Linked DNA regions of Homo sapiens: regions 2 and 3 are each linked to region 1. The links are contacts of gene promoters, found by promoter capture Hi-C in human tissues and cell types (Jung and others, 2019). All regions are on one chromosome and are shown on one strand. Each heading gives the region's core, a stretch centred on a gene start or on the middle of the fragment in contact. The rest is flanking DNA. Distances are from core to core; before and after follow the strand shown. Region 1 holds the start of ID3 (inhibitor of DNA binding 3). Region 2 overlaps PNRC2 (proline rich nuclear receptor coactivator 2). Region 3 has its middle 23 kb from the start of LINC01355.

Evidence for each region. The method cuts DNA at HindIII sites, captures the fragments that hold promoters and counts their contacts. A contact is called where the count stands out against the background at its distance.
Region 2: a contact is called between a fragment that was not itself captured here and the fragment with the promoter of ID3 in region 1, in 1 of the 25 tissues and cell types used here (pancreas).
Region 3: a contact is called between a fragment that was not itself captured here and the fragment with the promoter of ID3 in region 1, in 3 of the 25 tissues and cell types used here (hippocampus, mesenchymal stem cells and pancreas).

What each region holds. Positions count from the first base shown.
Region 1 is chr1:23,558,251-23,560,973 of GRCh38, forward strand. ID3 (inhibitor of DNA binding 3) reads right to left here and starts at 1,251. Exons shown (of 3, transcript NM_002167.5): 1 at 877-1,251; 2 at 685-769; 3 at 1-165. The coding sequence starts at 1,176. The coding sequence ends at 710. The region is part of intron 2 of LOC124903876 (a long non-coding RNA gene); the gene reads left to right. RefSeq lists an enhancer at 121-250 and silencers at 1,191-1,450, 1,318-1,564. The HindIII fragment of the contact is 6,582 bases long and covers 1-2,723 here.
Region 2 is chr1:23,962,221-23,964,943 of GRCh38, forward strand. It overlaps PNRC2 (proline rich nuclear receptor coactivator 2), which reads left to right. Exons shown (of 3, transcript NM_017761.4): 3 at 1-1,242. SRSF10 (serine and arginine rich splicing factor 10) reads right to left here. Exons shown (of 6, transcript NM_054016.4): 6 at 2,127-2,723. Among named protein-coding and RNA genes, the nearest start is that of PNRC2, 3.8 kb to the left of the region's middle. The HindIII fragment of the contact is 3,642 bases long and covers 1-2,723 here.
Region 3 is chr1:23,261,526-23,264,248 of GRCh38, forward strand. No RefSeq gene overlaps it. Among named protein-coding and RNA genes, the nearest start is that of LINC01355, 23 kb to the right of the region's middle. RefSeq lists an enhancer at 1,752-2,586. The HindIII fragment of the contact is 3,246 bases long and covers 1-2,723 here.

The sequences.
Region 1 (2,723 bases), core at 1-2,500:
CCACAAGTTCACAGTCCTTCGCTCCTGAGCACCAGGTTTAGTCTCCAGGAAGGGATTTGGTGAAGTCAAGTGGGCAGGGCGAAGTTGGGGCCCATCCCTGCCGTCCGGCTTCCGGCAGGAGAGGTTCCCGGGGTCCCAGGCAGAACGGGCGCCAGCACCTGCGTTCTGGGCGGGGGAGGAAAGAAGACCAAGGAGCAGTCAGTTTCCGCCGAGCGTGCCGAGGCGGGGGCCGTCCGCAGACTGGCCGGCGCCAGGGAGGAAACTTGGTCTGTACCTCCAGCTGATAACTCCGCGCCCCACGCTGCCCCCACCCAGTTGGCGCCAAAGACCACAGGCGGAGCTTGCGCTACCCCTCCTACTTGGAATTGACACTAGCTGGGAGGGGGCTGCCGAAGACAGCTCCCTATACAACATGGAACAGAAAGACTTGTATTTAGTCGGACCCATGTCTACTTTGCCAGACCCTCGGCCACTGCGGGAGGGCAGGGCCCAGGCGCATTTAAGGCTTAAATGCACATCACATGGAAACTGACTCTGCCATTCATTTGATGCAACCATGGGCAAGTCACTTGTCCCTCTCTGGCCTCAGTTTCCCTAAACCGAGTGAGTGGCAATTTTTCAAAACGTCTGCCAACTCCAGGACTTGCCGTTTAAACCTCCCTCTCCAAGAGAGGAGATACTCACCTGGAGGTGTCAGGACACGGCCGAGTCAGTGGCAAAAGCTCCTTTTGTCGTTGGAGATGACAAGTTCCGGAGTGAGCTCGGCTGTCTGATTAGAGGAAAAGAGGGAAGAGTTACGCGAGGCAATCGGGAGCTCCGAGGGTCCCGCAGCATCCTTGCCTGGGTGTTCAGCCCTGTCCCGACTTCGAGGCTTACCTGGATGGGAAGGTGGGGGCCATCAGGGGGTCCAGGGGCTGGCTCGGCCAGGACTACCTGCAGGTCGAGAATGTAGTCGATGACGCGCTGTAGGATTTCCACCTGGCTAAGCTGAGTGCCTCTCGGGACTCCGGGTACCAGTTCCCGCAGGCGGGAGTAGCAGTGGTTCATGTCGTCCAGCAAGCTCAGCGGCTCCTCAGCTGCCGGGCCCTTCCCTCGGCCCCGGGCGATGGCCAGACTGCGTTCCGACAGGCAGCACACCGCCTCGTAGCAGCCGCGCACCGGGCTCAGCGCCTTCATGCTGGGGAGTGAGTCCAGAGGTGCCCCAAAGAGAAAGAAAACCAAAAGAAGTCCCGCTACAGTGACCTGCAACGCGCGCACGCTCGCCGCGGCGGTCACTTATAGAGCCTGCCTGGAAGGCACGCCTCTTTATTCAAAATGGCCCGCCTCGGCCCTGCCCCCGCCGGCCCTGGGCGTTCACAGCCCGCTTAAATTGCAAACAGGCTTCCTCCGGCTGGTCTGACGCCGAAGACCGCGGAGCCGCGGATTCAAAGAATGAGGAAGCGCTGATACCGGGGAGAGGCGGGCCTCTCCGCCAGCAAGGATTTAAAAATCACTCAAAACCATTAACTTCCAGAATTTGCTTTTTCCTGGCAGCACCCCAGATCTTTGAGCTTCCCTGCCCCCTGCCAGTCCGCCTTTAGCCCAACACTGGTTCGAGCCACAGCTCCTCCGAGGTCATAAATCCCTGAACAGCAAAGAAGCTCCCCCCACCCCCCGTTTTTTTTAAGCGAAAGATTTTTCAAGGGAAACTTGTAAGGAATTAGTGCCGCCTTGTTCCCCAATTTGCTGTTCGTCTGACCTCCAGACTCACTGGCGTCAGGAATTATCTTGTGACCAGAGGGAAAAAAAATTAATTGCGGTGAAGCTGAGGTTACAATGAAGAAAACAGATTTGCGCTAGGCGCTGAGATTGCAGAAGGAGGAGGGAAAGGGGGTTTGAGCAAAGAACACTATTTATTTGAGCAACAGGGGAAAAGAAGAAAGCTTGAGCCCATGCTTTTTGCATGGGGAAAAAAGGAGCCTGGACCCTCTGCCCCATAAACTCCATAACGAACTAAATATATGCACAGTTGTGCTTTGTGAGTTCAATTAGAATTTTGGACAAGGTTTTAAATATGGAGGCACAGATGGGACAATTTCTACATAAACCTTTTTAAGAGCCCCCCCCCACCCAATTGGGTCAGCAAATTTCTTAACTTCCCCTCTCTTCACTTTCCACACACCTCTGTGTAGAAAACAGTGGTAATTTCATTGCTCTATTGTCTGTCCCTTTCTGCTATGGAAGGGCAGGCCACCTGGACTTGATTATTCTTAGCCCTGCTGAAGTAGCTCCAGCTCCATCTGAAAGACCAGGAAAGGAACCAGAGGGCCGGCAAACTAAGTCCTGTATTGCAACAGGACACTGTGCTCAGTATTCTTTGATTCTTTGCTTGCCTTCTTGTCACCTCCCTAGACATTTGGGGACCTGCACTTCCAAGATGCTGCTTTCCATTTTGGAAATGACCAAGTGGGATTCCCCCAATAGTTGCTTTCCTAATGAATCATTGGTGAATATTTATGGAGTCCCTCCGCATAAAACAGTGGCTCCTGCTTTCAAGAATCTCACAATTTGGGGAGACAAGATTAACACAGGAAACAAGAGTTCGATAATGTGTGGCACTGATTAACAGGACAAGGGGGGCTCAGAGCCAAAGAGAGTCGCAAAACGGTTGAAAAGGACACTGACTGGGAATTGAGAGCCCTGGGTTCATCATGCTAGCCCTGACAATAATTTGTCATGTAATC
Region 2 (2,723 bases), core at 145-2,644, 400 kb after region 1:
GCTAACACAAGGATTCAGAATTAGGTAAACATCTGAAGGTTTAGTATATTAGAAACACCCAAACCAGTAATATGCTAACCTGATGCACTGCTGAAAGAAAATGTGAATTTTTCGTAATAATTGCATTTTAGTGAATTGTACAGTGGGTGGAAAGGGCATTTGGAGCTCATTAGAATGAGACATAGTACACCCCAATGGCCCTGTTTATTAAATGTAGTGGATTAAGTGTCTGTCAACAAATACACCAAAACCATTTTTTATAGAAACAGTATTTAATGGTCACTCAATAGCTTTCAAAATACATTTTTGTATTACAGCACTGCACAAGCTATTCTAATAGTGCTCTGGCCTCATCATTCCTGCAAAGCTTGCTTTGGGGAGTTGGATAATGTGAAAATTTTAAGTACCTAGGGGAGAAAGAGCCATGTAAATATCTGTAATAAACTTGTAGCATATGTAAAGTTTTCTTGGCCTTTATCTTACAAAAATGGAGTATTTTAGTATGAATTTGCTGAATGTAAGACCGTGGACTGTTTTTTATAATATGGCCTAATTTTAAAGGTCCAAAATAACTTGTTTTTAAAGTTTGCCCTTGTGCTAAAGTGCCAGTGTATGTATGTTATACTTGATTTGGTTGTAAACTATATTTCAAAGTAAACCCTAGTGTAATAAGTTTTATAACTAAAAAGGTTTAAGCTGCTAAAACTATTTTTAAGAGATGTGAAATGCAGTATGGGACTATCTTTTTTTCCTCCTCTAAGCCCAAAGATTAACTAGAGTCCCTCCAACCTTATAGATTGTTGGCTTTCACAATCTTATAACCTAGGATACAGGTAGTTTCGAGTATGGTGCCAGTGATGTTTTGTTTTTGTTTGGTCAAGGGGTAGGTGCAACCCAATGGACCACTTATGCAAAAGATGTAAACTCTTGCATAATACATTGATAACATGTTTTGCCAACTTTAAATGCTTAAACATAAGCGAAACCAGTAGCAAGTATGTGGGTCAGCTTAAAAATTTTGATTGTTAATGCCCTATTTTCTAATTTGGCACCTCTTGATGCCTAAGCAGGTAAGCAGATGCCTAAGCTGTATTTCTCCAAATAAATCAAGATGAAGTACTGCCCAAGTTAAATATTGATAGCCTAAAGACAAGTTTATGTAGTACTTAATGTACATGATATGAATGTGAAGCATAAAATTAAATAAAATTTTTCCCCATTGGCTTGGTTTTATTTTAAAAATGGTTTTGATTGCTTAATATTCTTTTTAAAAATGTGTTTTACTTGTCACTGACTTGAAGCTCATAATACACTCACAATATTCCAAACTCTTGGATTTCTCAGACTCCAGAACTATGAACCACTACATTTCTGATCATATATATATACGTATATATAAAAAAGGTCACAACTAAAATGTGATAGGACTGTTGGCTTGAAAAGGGGCAACTAGTTTGCTGACTGATACAGAAGATACTAGGATTTGACAGCTATGCAGTTAAGCAACTACTTAGGATTTCTCTCTCCCAGTAGTGTTAATTAAAAAGCAAAAAAAAGGCCACACATGGAAAACATCGCAAAGCTTTTGAAAGTTAATTCCATGATCTAGGTTCATAGAAAAAAAATTATAAGCAAATTTATCAAGTTGACAAGAACCCTTGTGTTTTAAGTATGTTGACAAATGAAAAGTATATAAGGGGACCCCTCAGAAGAAAAGCATCACAACCACACCTTTCTGATACAGATTCCAAATGATAGGGCATCTTAAAACTAGTTTGAGTAATCCTTAAAATGCTACAACTAGTCCCATGGCAAAGCTGTATTATTTTCATGCAAACTAGTTAACAATTTGGAGTTAAGGCAGAACCAGCATTTGGGTGTTCATTTTGTTTCCAGGGTAATTTCTGTGAACAATGCCAAGGATTGCAGAATTGAACTTCATGTATTGGACAAATCTCAGCCTAGGTGTCTGTTAGTTTTTAAGCTATATATTGAATCTAGTGTATATATTGAATACACTAGATTTTTAGTGACTAATCTAGTAATACACTAGATTTTTGGTTTGACTCAAGCAAAATGAGTAAATGGAAGTGGGAGTGGAAGATTACCTAACTTCATACTTTAGGAAAGGTACTGATAAAAGTTTTGGTTAGCCTATATAGAGAATGGTGATAGGAATTTCCCAAGTCGATGCAATTGCGAGAACCAAAAATAGCTGGTACAGAGAACTTACCATGTAAGGCTGCTGAAGTCAGCCATACTGTGAACCTTAGGTAAATGCTGTAATTTCAATTTGTCTTCTTTTCGATGGCAGTTATACTATGATGGAATCCAGGTCCAAAACCTATCCTTAAGCTTAAAATAAATACTAATAAACTATCCTCTTCCCTAGAACTACAACACAGGAAAAAACCTGAAAGGTTTTGTGTAAGTTTCAGTTTCTAGTATTTTGGTTGCATTCTTGTAGGCAATTTGTAAAGCAAGAGGGACAGAGTGCATCTCTAAAACCTCTTACACAAATTAGGAAAAAGTTGTACCCAGGTGGTTACAAATCTAAGAGCAAAATCTTAAAAAAACCCAAGATTTATTTTTGGCTCCTAGACCAGTTTATTTCACTTTCCAGCATTCAAAGAAATGTGATCTGCAAAAAACTAGATACAAAGGCCTTTTACTTCTTTACAAACTACGGTTAGTTCTCAATGAATTTACATGCCTCACTTTTT
Region 3 (2,723 bases), core at 117-2,616, 300 kb before region 1:
AGCTTGAATATTCCATCATCATTTGCTTTTTCTTTTTTTTTTTCTTGAGACAGGGTCTTGCTCTGTCATCCAGGCTAGAGTGCAGTGGCATGATCACTGCTCACTGCAGCCTTGACCTCCTGGGCTCAAGCAATCTTCCCACCTCAGACTCCCAAGTAGCTGGGACTACAGGCACATGCCACCACACTCAGCTAATTTTTGTATTTTTTGTAGAGATGAGGTCTCACTATGTTGCAATGCTAGAGACAGGGTTTTGCCATGTTGCCCAGGCAGGTCTTGAACTCCTGGGCTGAAGCAATATGCTTGCCTTGGCCTCCCAAAGCGCTGGGATTACAGATGTGAGCCACCGTGCCTGGCATCATTTTCAAAACCAGACTTTTTCCTTGGTGATGGTTCTAGCCAAATGTTTTAGCTCCTCAGTGTCATCGTGGTTTCCCGCCATCAGGAAGCTGGTAGTCCTTCTCCCAACTGAAGCGGTCACCACATTTGATTTCCACTATCAGGAAATGAATATATCACTATTTTCATAACAGCTACCATGTATTGAGTGTGTGGTTGTTCTAGGCAGTAGGCTAAGCAGTTTCCATTTTATCACTTAGTTTTCACAAGAATCTTAGGAAATCACCATTAATAAACCAATTTTTCAAATGAAACTGATGCCTAAAGAGGTTTAAAAACTTTGAGTATGTGAGGATGGGGTAGAAGCAAGGATTGTCTTACTCTAGGGTCAGATCTGGGTTTTGTGGGGCCTGAAGCTTAGGCTACTGGGGGGGACCATCTTTAAGAAAATGATAAAAAAGGCCGGGCGCGGTGGCTCACGCCTGTAATCCCAGCACTTTGGGAGGCCGAGGCGGGTGGATCATGAGGTCAGGAGATCGAGACCATCCTGGCTAACATGGTAAAACCCCGTTTCTACTAAAAATACAACAAATTAGCCGAGCGTGGTGGCGGGCGCCTGTAGTCCCAGCTACTCGGGAGGCTGAGGCAGGAGAGTGCGGTGAACCCGGTAGGCGGAGCTTGCAGTGAGCTGAGATCGCGCCACTGCACTCCAGCCTGGGCGACAGAGCGAGACTCTGTATGAATTAAAAAAAAAAAAAAAGAAAAATGATTAAAAATTACAAATACAAATTTTGGCTGTGTGTGGTGACTCATGCCTGTAATCTCAGCACTTTGGCAGGTTCACTTGAGGCTAGGAATTCAAGACCAGTCCGGGCAACACAGTGAGCCCCGACTCTACTTTGGGAGGCCAAGGCAGGCAGATCACGTGGTCAAGAAAGCGAGACTATCCTGGCCAACACGGCGAAACCCCGTCTCTACTAAAAATACAAAAATTAGCTGGGTGTGGTGGCGTGCGCCTGTAGTCCCAGCTACTCGCTTGAACTCAGCAACCAAGGAGAATCGCTTGAACTCAGGAGGCAGAGGTTGCAGTGAGCCGAGATCGCACCATTGCACTCCAGCCTGGTGACAGAGCGAGACTCCGTCTCAAAAAAAAAAAAAAAAAAAATTATCAGACATAGTAGTGGCTCCCGTCTGCAGTCCCAGCTACTTGGGAAGCTTAGGTGGAAGGATCCCTTGAGCCCAGGAATTGGAGGTTGCAATGAGCCATGGTTGAGCCACTGCACTCCAGCCTTGGGGTGACAGAGCAAGACCCCCTCTCTAAAAAAAAAAAAGCCACAAAAATACAAATTTTTATAAGAAAGTGCTGGAGTAAAAGGAGATAATGTGTGACTGAGTGATCTTAACCAATTGCAGTTAAAAAATGTTTTTAACAAATTTTACAAAAAACGTTCACTCTGTGAACACATCATTCATTAGGACCTCCCTCAGCTCTTTGGAAGGAGCTAATAGTGTAAATGAAGGGTTTTGAGGCCACGACTTCATTAGCAACTCAATAAATCCACCTGTGCCTCTGCTGGAGCCGTGGTTTTCCACAAAGAATTGACAGGCCTAAAAGGTCAATAGTGCCTTGGCTGAGAAAGCTTGTGCTCCAGGGAGGAAACCTGAAGAAAGAGGTTGCCAAACTCTTCTTGGGTGGTCATTGATTGCACCCAAATTGCATTTTATGAGACTCTCAGATCCATTATCTCTCTTGGTCTTGGGAAGACAGTAGAGGGAGTTGGGATGGATTGTTCAGCTCTTTGCATTACAAATGTATCCTGGGTGACAGAGAGGGTGTCCTGCAGTTGCTCCCATGCTCCCTGACTCTCTTCTCTCTTCTCATTGTTGTCTCTCTTTAGGCCAGCCCTGTCCAATGCAAAGGCGAGCCCTGGTTCCATGGGTGAGGAAGGGATCTCTGGGTGCTTCCAGGCTGAACCTCTAGTCTGGTAAACATCTGAAAGCAAACACTCCTCTCCCATGAGAATTGGTCTCCTGGAGAGCATGCCTTTCTGAGTGACAAGTTAGTATTCTTCTGTTACCCTGATTTGTATCCTATTTGCTGTTAGATAGCTCTGGTCTTATTATGCAAAAGGTGCCTTTCCCCCGTCTTGCCCTGAATTGTATTACAAAGCTTCCTCAAATTAGGAAACATTAAAAGGTGCCCAGCTCAGCCCAAGCTTCTCCCCTCATCTTGGAGGAGGAAAGGGGAGCTGTTTCAGTTTATGCTGCCATATAAAGGGCTGTTGTTTGTTTAAGTTGCTGTATTCCATCCCTGGCACTGTCTCCAAGCATGATACTATGACGAAGCTTGTTTTTGTTTTGTTTTGTTTTGTTTTTTACAGCTC